Linked DNA regions of Homo sapiens: region 1 is linked to region 2. The links are contacts of gene promoters, found by promoter capture Hi-C in blood cells and fetal thymus (Javierre and others, 2016). All regions are on one chromosome and are shown on one strand. The core of a region is centred on a gene start or on the middle of the fragment in contact, and the rest is flanking DNA. Distances in the headings are between cores, read along the strand shown. Region 1 overlaps UTP14A (UTP14A small subunit processome component). Region 2 holds the start of ZNF280C (zinc finger protein 280C).

Region 1 (4,609 bases), core at 1,541-4,040, 340 kb before region 2:
TTGGCTGGATATTTTTGGGATTAATAATTGCAAGTAGTCACTTCTGAGAGAATTTTGGAAAGCAGCACAGCGGGCTGAGATTGTGGGGGTGTACATATATGACCACAGGACCCTAGTGGCTTTCTCTTGAGCCCCCTCAACAACTGGCCATCTAGCTAAATGTGCAGAGCGGCTGACTGTGATATGAAAGAATGAAAGATAGATTTGCATTTCCTTGGACAGTAAATAAATTGAATTTTCTCACACCTTCCAAGAGTGTCCTAAAATACTGGAAAGCCACGGACCCCAGTGAAAATGAGCAAGGAAACCTGATTCTTGAGAAATAAACGTACATGTGTCCAAAGGCCAGATCTAAGGAGCTACAATGGCTTCATGCCAAAGCTAGACAGCAGGATCAACTTGGGAATGGAGGCAACTTGAGTCAATGAAAAAGACAGTTTAGAAGCATGTCACTGCCAGGTTTCCCTCCAGACTGTTTTGAGACAGGTCTCTGTCATACAGGCTGGAGTGCAGTGGTGCAACCTCGGCTCACTGCAAGCTCCACCTCCCAGGTTCAAGCAATCCTCCTGCCTCAGCCTGCAAGTAGCTGGGATTACAGGCATATGCCACCACGCCCAGCTAATTTTTGTATTTTTAGTAGAGACAGGGTTTTGCCATGTTGGTCAGGCTGGTCTCAAACTCCTGGCTTCAAGTGAATCACCCATTTCGGCCTCCCAGAGTGCTGGGATTACAGGTGTGAGCCACTGTGCCAAGCCAGCCCCTCCAGACTCTTGAGACTAGTGTTATTTGCTCAGATGTTGCCAGTGAAAGTGTGAGCTACATCCACTGGATAAAGCAGCTACTTCATCCCTTGACTCAGCCACAGCAGATTATGAAATACTGCTTTAAGATATGGAGTAGAAATTCTTGAGTCAAGATGAAAATCCTGGATAGGGTTTTTACAAGCAGTGAAGCATAAATTACAATGAAGTTACATTGAGAAGCCACCTGTTAAAGTGGCTTCCTTTTTTAAAATTTGGAACTTGGGGCAATCTTCCCAAGCAGGGTTTACTGCACGAGGAACTTAAGCCACAGTCCCAGTTATACAGTGGATCATTGGCAAAGCTGGGAATAGGACCCAGGACGTCTGCTTCCAATATGCTACTTTTTTTTTTTTTTTGAGACGTCTTGCCCTGTTGCCCAGGCTAGTATGCAGTGGCACAGTCACAGCTTCCTGCAGCCTTGACCTTCTGGCTCCAGCAATCCTCCCAGCTTAGCCTCCCAAGTAGGTGGGACTACAGATCCACACCGCCATGCCTGGAAATTTTTTGTTGTTGTTGGAGGGGTGGAGGTGGTAGAGATGAGTTCTCACTATGTTGTTCAGGCTGGTCTCGAACTCCTGGGCTCAAGCTATCCTGCCCCCTTGGCCTCCCAAAGTGCTGGCATACAGGCGTGAGCCACCATATCCAACATCTCACATGCTACTTTTTTTTTTTTTTTTTTTTTGAGACGGAGTCTCGCTCTGTCACCTAGGCTGGAGTGCAGTGGCACAATCTCGGCTCACTGCAACCTCTGCCTCCCTGGTTCAAGTGATTCTCCTGCCTCAGCCTCCTGAGTAGCTGGACTACAGGCACATGCCACCATGCCCAGCTAATTTTTTGTATTTTTAGTAGAGATGGGGTTTCACCGTGTTAGCCAGGATGGTCTCGATCTCCTGACCTCATGATCTGCCCGCCTCGGCCTCCCAAAGTGCTGGGATTACAGGTGTGAGCCACCGCACCTGGCCACATGCTACTTTTAATTACCAAACTCCGTTGCCTGCTATGATTAGTGTACTGTCTAGGAGATTCAATGTACAGAATCTTCTTTTCCCCGTTTGTCCTTTTTATAATGTCTTATGTGGTACCTAGCACTTGGTGGGTGCTCAACAAATGCTTACCGACCAGACAACGTACAAACCTCATTTTCTGACAGTTTTCATTCTTTTTTCCCCCAGATTCTGGCAGCCAGGAGGTGCTGTCTGAATTGAGAGTACTATCTCAGAAATTGAAGGAAAACCATCAGTCCAGGAAGCAAAAAGCAAGTTCAGAGGGGACTATTCCCCAGGTCCAGAGAGAGGAACCTGCCCCAGAAGAAGAGGAGCCCCTGTTGCTACAGAGACCAGAGAGAGTACAGACGCTGGAAGAGCTAGAAGAGCTGGGAAAAGAAGAATGTTTTCAAAATAAGGAGCTTCCCAGACCTGTGTTAGAAGGGCAGCAGTCAGAGAGGACCCCAAATAATCGCCCTGATGCCCCTAAGGAGAAGAAAAAGAAGGAGCAAATGATCGACCTACAGAACCTCCTAACCACACAATCTCCCTCCGTGAAGTCTTTGGCAGTTCCCACAATAGAGGAGCTGGTGAGCAGAGCCAGGGTGGTGGGCCATTGTTCAGAAAGTGTCGTTCTTGCGCAAGGAGTAATGAAGCTTTGTTTTGCTGGGGGCACATTTCAGTAGTTTAGAGGTCCAGAATAGTATAGGGCCAGGCTAGTCCCAGTGACGTTTTAATAGATGCAGATATATGGGTGCTGCCAAGACCCCTATTTCCGAAAGCCTGATCCACAAAAACTCCTCTGGGGTGACTCTAAAACTGCTCTCAGAGGTAAGAGGGAGTAACTCAGAGTTCTGACCAGATCCCAGGCAGGACAACTTGAAGGTGAGTCATTGAACTGTTGCGAAAGTTTTATTCAGTGGGATCTCAGATGGTCTAAGACTCCCCAGTTAATCTGAAACTTAAAGTGAAGCGTCCTGGCACCTGTCTTTTCAGGGATATAAGCTGGAGGAAGCCTACAGTCTGGCCACTTAGAGCTCCTGCTGCTAACACGGGCCATTCCTTCCTCCACCCTGCAGCTTCCTTACTGAAAAGTTTAAAATTGTGTCATATGATAATGAGCTAGGGATATTTACCCTAGAGGGAAGAAAATTTGAGCATGATTGGCTGTGCACTGGTTTGTATCGCAAGACCATCATTGTTCAGCACTTCCCCCTAGGGGGCGCTAAAATGTCACGACCCGAAATTCAAGCGTTCTCGCCATGAACCACAGCTCATAAGCCAAGCTGTAGCTCTCGCTTGTTTCTTCCCAGGAAGATGAAGAGGAGAGAAACCATAGGCAGATGATAAAGGAAGCTTTTGCTGGGGATGATGTCATCAGAGATTTCTTGAAAGAGAAGAGGGAAGCTGTGGAGGCGAGTAAGCCAAAGGACGTGGACCTGACACTACCTGGCTGGGGCGAGTGGGGTGGTGTGGGCCTAAAGCCCAGTGCCAAGAAAAGACGCCGGTAAGAATGCCGAAGAAAGTCTGTCAAAAGGGCACCGGGTTCTCCCCTCGCCCTTCGGTGTCCTCCCTACCCTTTTGACTAAGTCCTTAATGCTCCTAGTCAGATGTCCTGTTGTTTTGCTTTCCAGGTTTCTCATTAAAGCCCCTGAGGGTCCTCCAAGAAAAGATAAGAATTTGCCAAATGTGATTATCAATGAGAAGCGCAACATCCACGCAGCTGCTCATCAGGTGAGAGCTTAGAGAGCTCTTTAGCTGCCTGCTTGTTACTGCCTGGCTCTCTTGCTTGAGAGGAGTATTCTAGTGATCTGTAGTCAAGAGAGACGTGTGATCTTGACCGCAGAATCAAATCTGTTGTTTTCACTGAATGGCTGTTAGATTTATCATTTCAGATAGACTACGCTGTTTTAATTACTGGCCAGGAAAAAAGTTTAGAGTCAAGGTAATGCTCAAACAGAGGCTATAAGGTTTAAGCTGTAGCTTAAGAAAAATGAAGACAAACCGGTACTTGTTCAGGAGAATGAGAAGATTGTAAGTTGTGTCACATGATAATGAGCTAGGGATGTTTACAAGAGAAGAAAATTTGAGCGTGATTACGGTGTTCAAGTATATCGAAGGTTATTGTATGAAGTCACATAAAGTAGAAGTTAGAGGACATACAGAATTCAAGGCTGCTCTGGGAGTATGAGAATGTGTAAAGGGGACTCAAGAACGAGATTGGACTAGATGACCTTTATGTTCCCTTCAATTCTGAGATCTGTCCCCAGCCAGTATATTGAAATGAGTTACATTTTTCCCTCGGAAGGAATAAAGAATTAATGGCTACAGAACAGAGGTAAGAAGATACACATTTCAATAACATTCTTTTTGATCTTATTTTGTGAACCAATCACTGCAGAAACTGAATCATAACTACTGCAGTCCCAATTAAACCTATATAACTAGAAAATAGGCAGTTACACGATAAGGGAAGGGGGGAAAGGGTGCTTCAGTGGGCCAGGATTCCAGGTGATGGGTAGAGTATGGAGCTCAATAAAGACCACCCTTCCCTTCCAGGGGTCTGTTTGTTTTTTTAATACAGTCATGGCAAACTGACAAATAGTTTTCTAGGAATCTCCCCTGATTTTCATCTTTTTAATAAGTTACTGCAGGTTCCAACATGCAGTAGAATAAAGTGCTTCAAGGTGCCTAGGGGGGACTTCTGAGACTGAATACTTTGTCCAGGTGTTCTCTTTTTCTGTTGCCCTGGTTGACAAGCACAGATGTAGCCGTCAACCCAAATAAGACATTCCCTTAACTTAAAGAGAATCTGTTTCCTTT
Region 2 (4,510 bases), core at 1,902-4,401:
AGCACTACTGTGAACATTAAATAAAGCAAGTGAAATATTCCTCAACAGTACTTTGCACTATTTTTCTCAACTTCTCCTTCCTTACCTGAAGTCATACCGTTAAGTTGATGAATACAAGCACTTAAAGAAAACAAATCTAGTTCACATGAAGAGCTCAATTAAAATCATATCATAAATAAACTGCATCACATCAGTAGTTCTCAAACTCTTTTATCCCAGGATTTCTTTTCACTTAAAACTTAATGAGAACCCCAATGAGCTTTATGTTTATATGGACAATATGTGTTGATATTTCCCATATTAGAAATTGAAACTGAGACAGATTTCAAATGTTTTTATTTAAAATATTTATAAGCCCATTACAAGTTAATAAAAATACTTTTAATGAGAATAACTTTTAAAAAACAAATTTAATGAGAAAAGTAATATTGATTTACATTTTTGCAAATGTCTTTAATATTTATCTTAATAAAAAGCAGCTGGATTCTCTTATTCTCTGGGGAAAAATGCTGTATGATCTCACATGTGGAATCTAAACAACTTTATCTCATAGAAACAGAGAGTAGAAAGATGGTTACCAGAGACTTGGGAGTTCAGGGGTGGGACAGATGGGGAAAAGATGTTGATCCAAGAGTACGAAGTTTAATTAGATGGGAGGAATAAGTTTTAGTTATCTATTGCACTACAAGGTGACCACAGCTAATACTAATAATGTATTGTATATTTCAAAATTGCTAAAATAATTTCTAACATTCTCATAACAAAATGATAAATTGGTAAGGTGATGGCTATGTTAGCCTCTTTCAATAATGTATACATATCAAAACATCACATTGTACCCCATAAATACGCACAATTATCATTTGCCAATAAAAAGTTAAAAAGGAAACAAAAAAATGAAAAAAAAAACTCCTTAAAAGAAAACTACTTTGCAGCAAATGAATAAAGTCTAGACGAATACTCTACTTTCAGGAGTCATTTCTACAGTTCATTACTAGTGATGTTTCTCTGAATGTACAGAGCACTGGGAAAAAAAGTCTAGACGTATATATTTGATTCAAATTACTGAGGAAGGCTGGGCATGGAGGCTCACTCCTGTAATCCCAGCACTTTGGGAGGCCGAGGTGGGTGGATCACGAGGTCAGGCGTTCCAGACCAGCCTGGCCAACATAGTGAAACCCCATCTCTACTAAAATTACAAAAATTAGCCGGGCGTGGTGGCAAGGGCCTGTAACCCCAGCTGCTTAGGAGGCTGAGGTAGCAGAATCGGTTGAACCCGGGAGGCAGAGGTTGCAGTGAGCTGAGATCGCGCCACTGCACTCCAGCCCGGGCGACATTGCGAGACTCCGTCTCAAAAAAAAAAAAAAAAAATTACTGAGGAAATCAAATCTTTTTGAATCACTACTTAAGACAAACTCACTGAAAACCAAGTAGCTGAGATTTGGAGTTATTCAACCTAAGAACTTTTTCAATAGGATATTCTTCAACTCTTCAACATGCTTAGAAATAATATTAAAGTATGAAAAAGTCGAAAAAAAATGAAGCCTTAAAAATAAAAATATAAAGGAAAAAGGAATTGAATAATACTTCTTAAAACTTTTAAGTGAGCCTCCTTGCTTATTCTCCGTGACCACCTCACTCTCACAAAAAGTGAGACATAATATACCAAATTGAACATTGGATGAGGGTCAGAAAGCCTAGGTTTAAGAATTGGTTCCATCACTTCCTAGGCACATGACCTCGGTAAAGTTCTGTCCTTGAGGCTGTTTCCTCATCTTCAAACAGTTCTAACGACACCCTACAGCCCATCTCAAAAGGGGTGCTACCAATGAAATATACAAATGCAAGATACGATTATAATGGAATCTGTACTGCTGTAGAAACATCAAAGGTACACAGCCCTAATTTTACAAGCAAATCAGTGCCTTTGTAGGCTCAGTGAAGTTTCTGCGTAAGGAGATTAAGTTTGCACAGTAACCCCCAAACCAGGACACCTCACAAATACTAAGAGGAGACTTTTGCAGTTTAAAACTCTACTTCTAGGTTTCTATTTTATGTTTAGGGGCACTAAAAGACATTACAACTCATAGTCCAAACCTGAAAACAATAGTAAAAAAAATTTAAGGTCGCAGATTTAAAAAACTCCACAAAACTAACAAATCTTTCCAAACAAAGAGAATCCCCTGGATGAAGGTCTCCCGTGCTTGCAGAAGCTGGTTCACTTGACAATTTCCTCTCGAATTTCTCCTTAAAAAAGCATTAAAACCTGAGAGAAGTTGAAAGGAACTCCCTCCATCTCTAGAGCAGGAGTATACCTCAGCATAATTTTTTCCATCTCTTTAAGTAAAACCTGCAAACCTCCTAGTTAGAATATAGTGTATTTAACTCCACGTTTCTCCTCAGGGCTCTTATCCTCTAGACAATAACGGAATAGAGCACGATTTCTGTGACAGAGAAGGGAAGTCCCTTTGGCCAGAACAAGGTTGTGGGCATGGAATGACCGGTCCTGTGTGGGGGGAACCTGCGCAGAAAGAAGGGGTCACAGGGTCTCTGATGCCTGAAAGTTCGGAATCCCCTCAAGTCTCTTTTCGTTTGATTGAAGAGACTTGAGGGTGGGCGGGTCTCCGTCAAACATCAGTATCAACCGTACAAAAGACGAAAGGGAGTTGCCTCCAGAATGAAAAGCCCAAACCGGGTTGGAAACAGACCGACAGGACTCAGGAGGTGAGAAGGCTGCCGCAGCTGCCGCGGCCCGCGAAACCACTGCCCGCCGCGGGCCGCCAGGCTCTACCTCCAGAAAACCCTCCCCCTTCAGGGCCCGGCGCAAGATGGTGGCCCACCAGCTACCACGCCGCCAAGCCTGTCCCCTCCCCCGCACCCCCGTCGATCCGCACCGGCATAGAGACCCTCAGCCAGCCGCCCTCAGAACCGCCCTCTGGGGAAGGCTGCCTCGGCCGCGCGGGAGAGCTGCTGCCTCCTTCCGCGCGGCACAGGCGGGGGCGGGGGCCGCTTACCGAGAGCAGAGCAGATCGGTCTGACTGGGGTTCGGATAAGGAGGAGGAGAAAGAGGAGGAGGAAAGGGAGGAGCGCGAAAAACCTCAGGCGACAGCCTCAGCAACAGCGACTCCCCCGGAGACTTCCAGCGCGGAACCGGCGTCTCAGCCGGGGGCAGAAGTATATAACTGCACGCGCTGCCTCATGGGTAGACGCCGACTCCACCCCCTGAACATCCGGGGCCTTTTAACCGCCCACGGACGGACGGCTGGTACTTACATGTGCACATGTGCAGCTACTTTACTTACCGTCGAAGGCAGCGGAGGAAGTGTAATTGACTAGCGTGGATGCAGCTTTTCTAAGCAAACGCTCGATTTAACCTGGAGTTGTCATCCCAAAAAATACATTGTACCTGACTACAGAGAAACATGAATTCTGGGTCTTCCTTGTGTGTGAGGGCTAAAGACACGAGTTAAAAATATAAATATATTGTTTTCTGGAAATACTGTACTTGAAACACGTCTCAAAATACTAGTTATTTTTACCTTTTGTTTTAAACATATGGTTTTGCTTGTCTCTCTGTTACTTCTAATTGCCATATGGATGCCTATAGTAGGTACAAAAAATGCTAAGGAAAAATACATTTACTCTTACACACAAGGAAGACCCAGAATTCATGTTTCTCTGTAGTCAGGTACAATGTATTTTGTGGGATGACAACTCCAGGTTAAATCGAGCGTTTGCTTAGAAAAGCTGCATCCACGCTAGTCAATTACACTTCCTCCGCTGCCTTCGACGGTAAGTAAAGTAGCTGCACTTGTGCACATGTAAGTACCAGCCGTCCGTCCGTGGGCTGGCCGCGGTGGCTCACACTTCTAATTCCAGCACTTTGGGAGGCTGAGGTGGGTGGATCACCTGGGGTGAGGAGTTTGAGACCACTTCCCTTTCCTCCTCGCCTTTCTCCTCCTCCTTCTCTGAACCCCAGTCAGCCTGACCAACATAGTGAAACCCCATCTTTACTAAAAATACAAAATTAGCAGGGTGTGGTGGCACATGCCTGTAATCCCAGCTACTTGGGAGGCTGAGGCGGGAGAATCACTGGAACTTGTAAATACATTTACAAGAAAAACACTTGCCAAAATACTGCTTACAGAAACATTTTCTAGACATTGTGCTTTGAACTGTAAAAGTTTCTTCTCCCAAATTTCTCCACAAGGTTTATAGCAGTACTGGTTCATCTCTCTTTTTCTTTTTTGAGACGGAGTTTCGCTCTTGTTGCCCAGGCAGGAGTCCAATGGCGTGATCTTGGCTCACCGCAACCTCCGCTTCCCGGGTTCAAGTGACTCTCCTGCCTCAGCCTCCCGAGTAGCTGGGATTACAGGCATGCGCCACCACACCCGACTAATTTTGTATTTTTAGTAGAGACGGGGTTTCTCCATGTTGGTCAGGCTGGTCTCGAACTCCCCACCTCAGGTGATCTGCCTGCCTCGGCCTCCCAAAGTGCTGGGATTACAAG

The links. The method cuts DNA at HindIII sites, captures the fragments that hold promoters and counts their contacts. A CHiCAGO score of 5 or more calls a contact.
Region 1: a fragment that was not itself captured here is called in contact with the fragment with the promoter of ZNF280C in region 2 in 2 of 17 cell types (activated CD4 T cells and naive CD8 T cells); the score reaches 5.7 in activated CD4 T cells.

The regions. Positions count from the first base shown.
Region 1 is chrX:129,922,820-129,927,428 of GRCh38, forward strand. UTP14A (UTP14A small subunit processome component) reads left to right here. Exons shown (of 15, transcript NM_006649.4): 12 at 1,976-2,376; 13 at 3,100-3,293; 14 at 3,421-3,520. All of the region lies in intron 2 of LOC105373335 (a long non-coding RNA gene), which reads right to left. Among named protein-coding and RNA genes, the nearest start is that of UTP14A, 19 kb to the left of the region's middle. RefSeq lists a silencer at 2,915-2,964. The HindIII fragment of the contact is 700 bases long and covers 2,441-3,140 here.
Region 2 is chrX:130,265,748-130,270,257 of GRCh38, forward strand. It overlaps ZNF280C (zinc finger protein 280C), which reads right to left and starts at 3,152. Exons shown (of 19, transcript NM_017666.5): 1 at 3,015-3,152. RefSeq lists a silencer at 2,853-2,932. The HindIII fragment of the contact is 6,334 bases long and covers 1-4,510 here.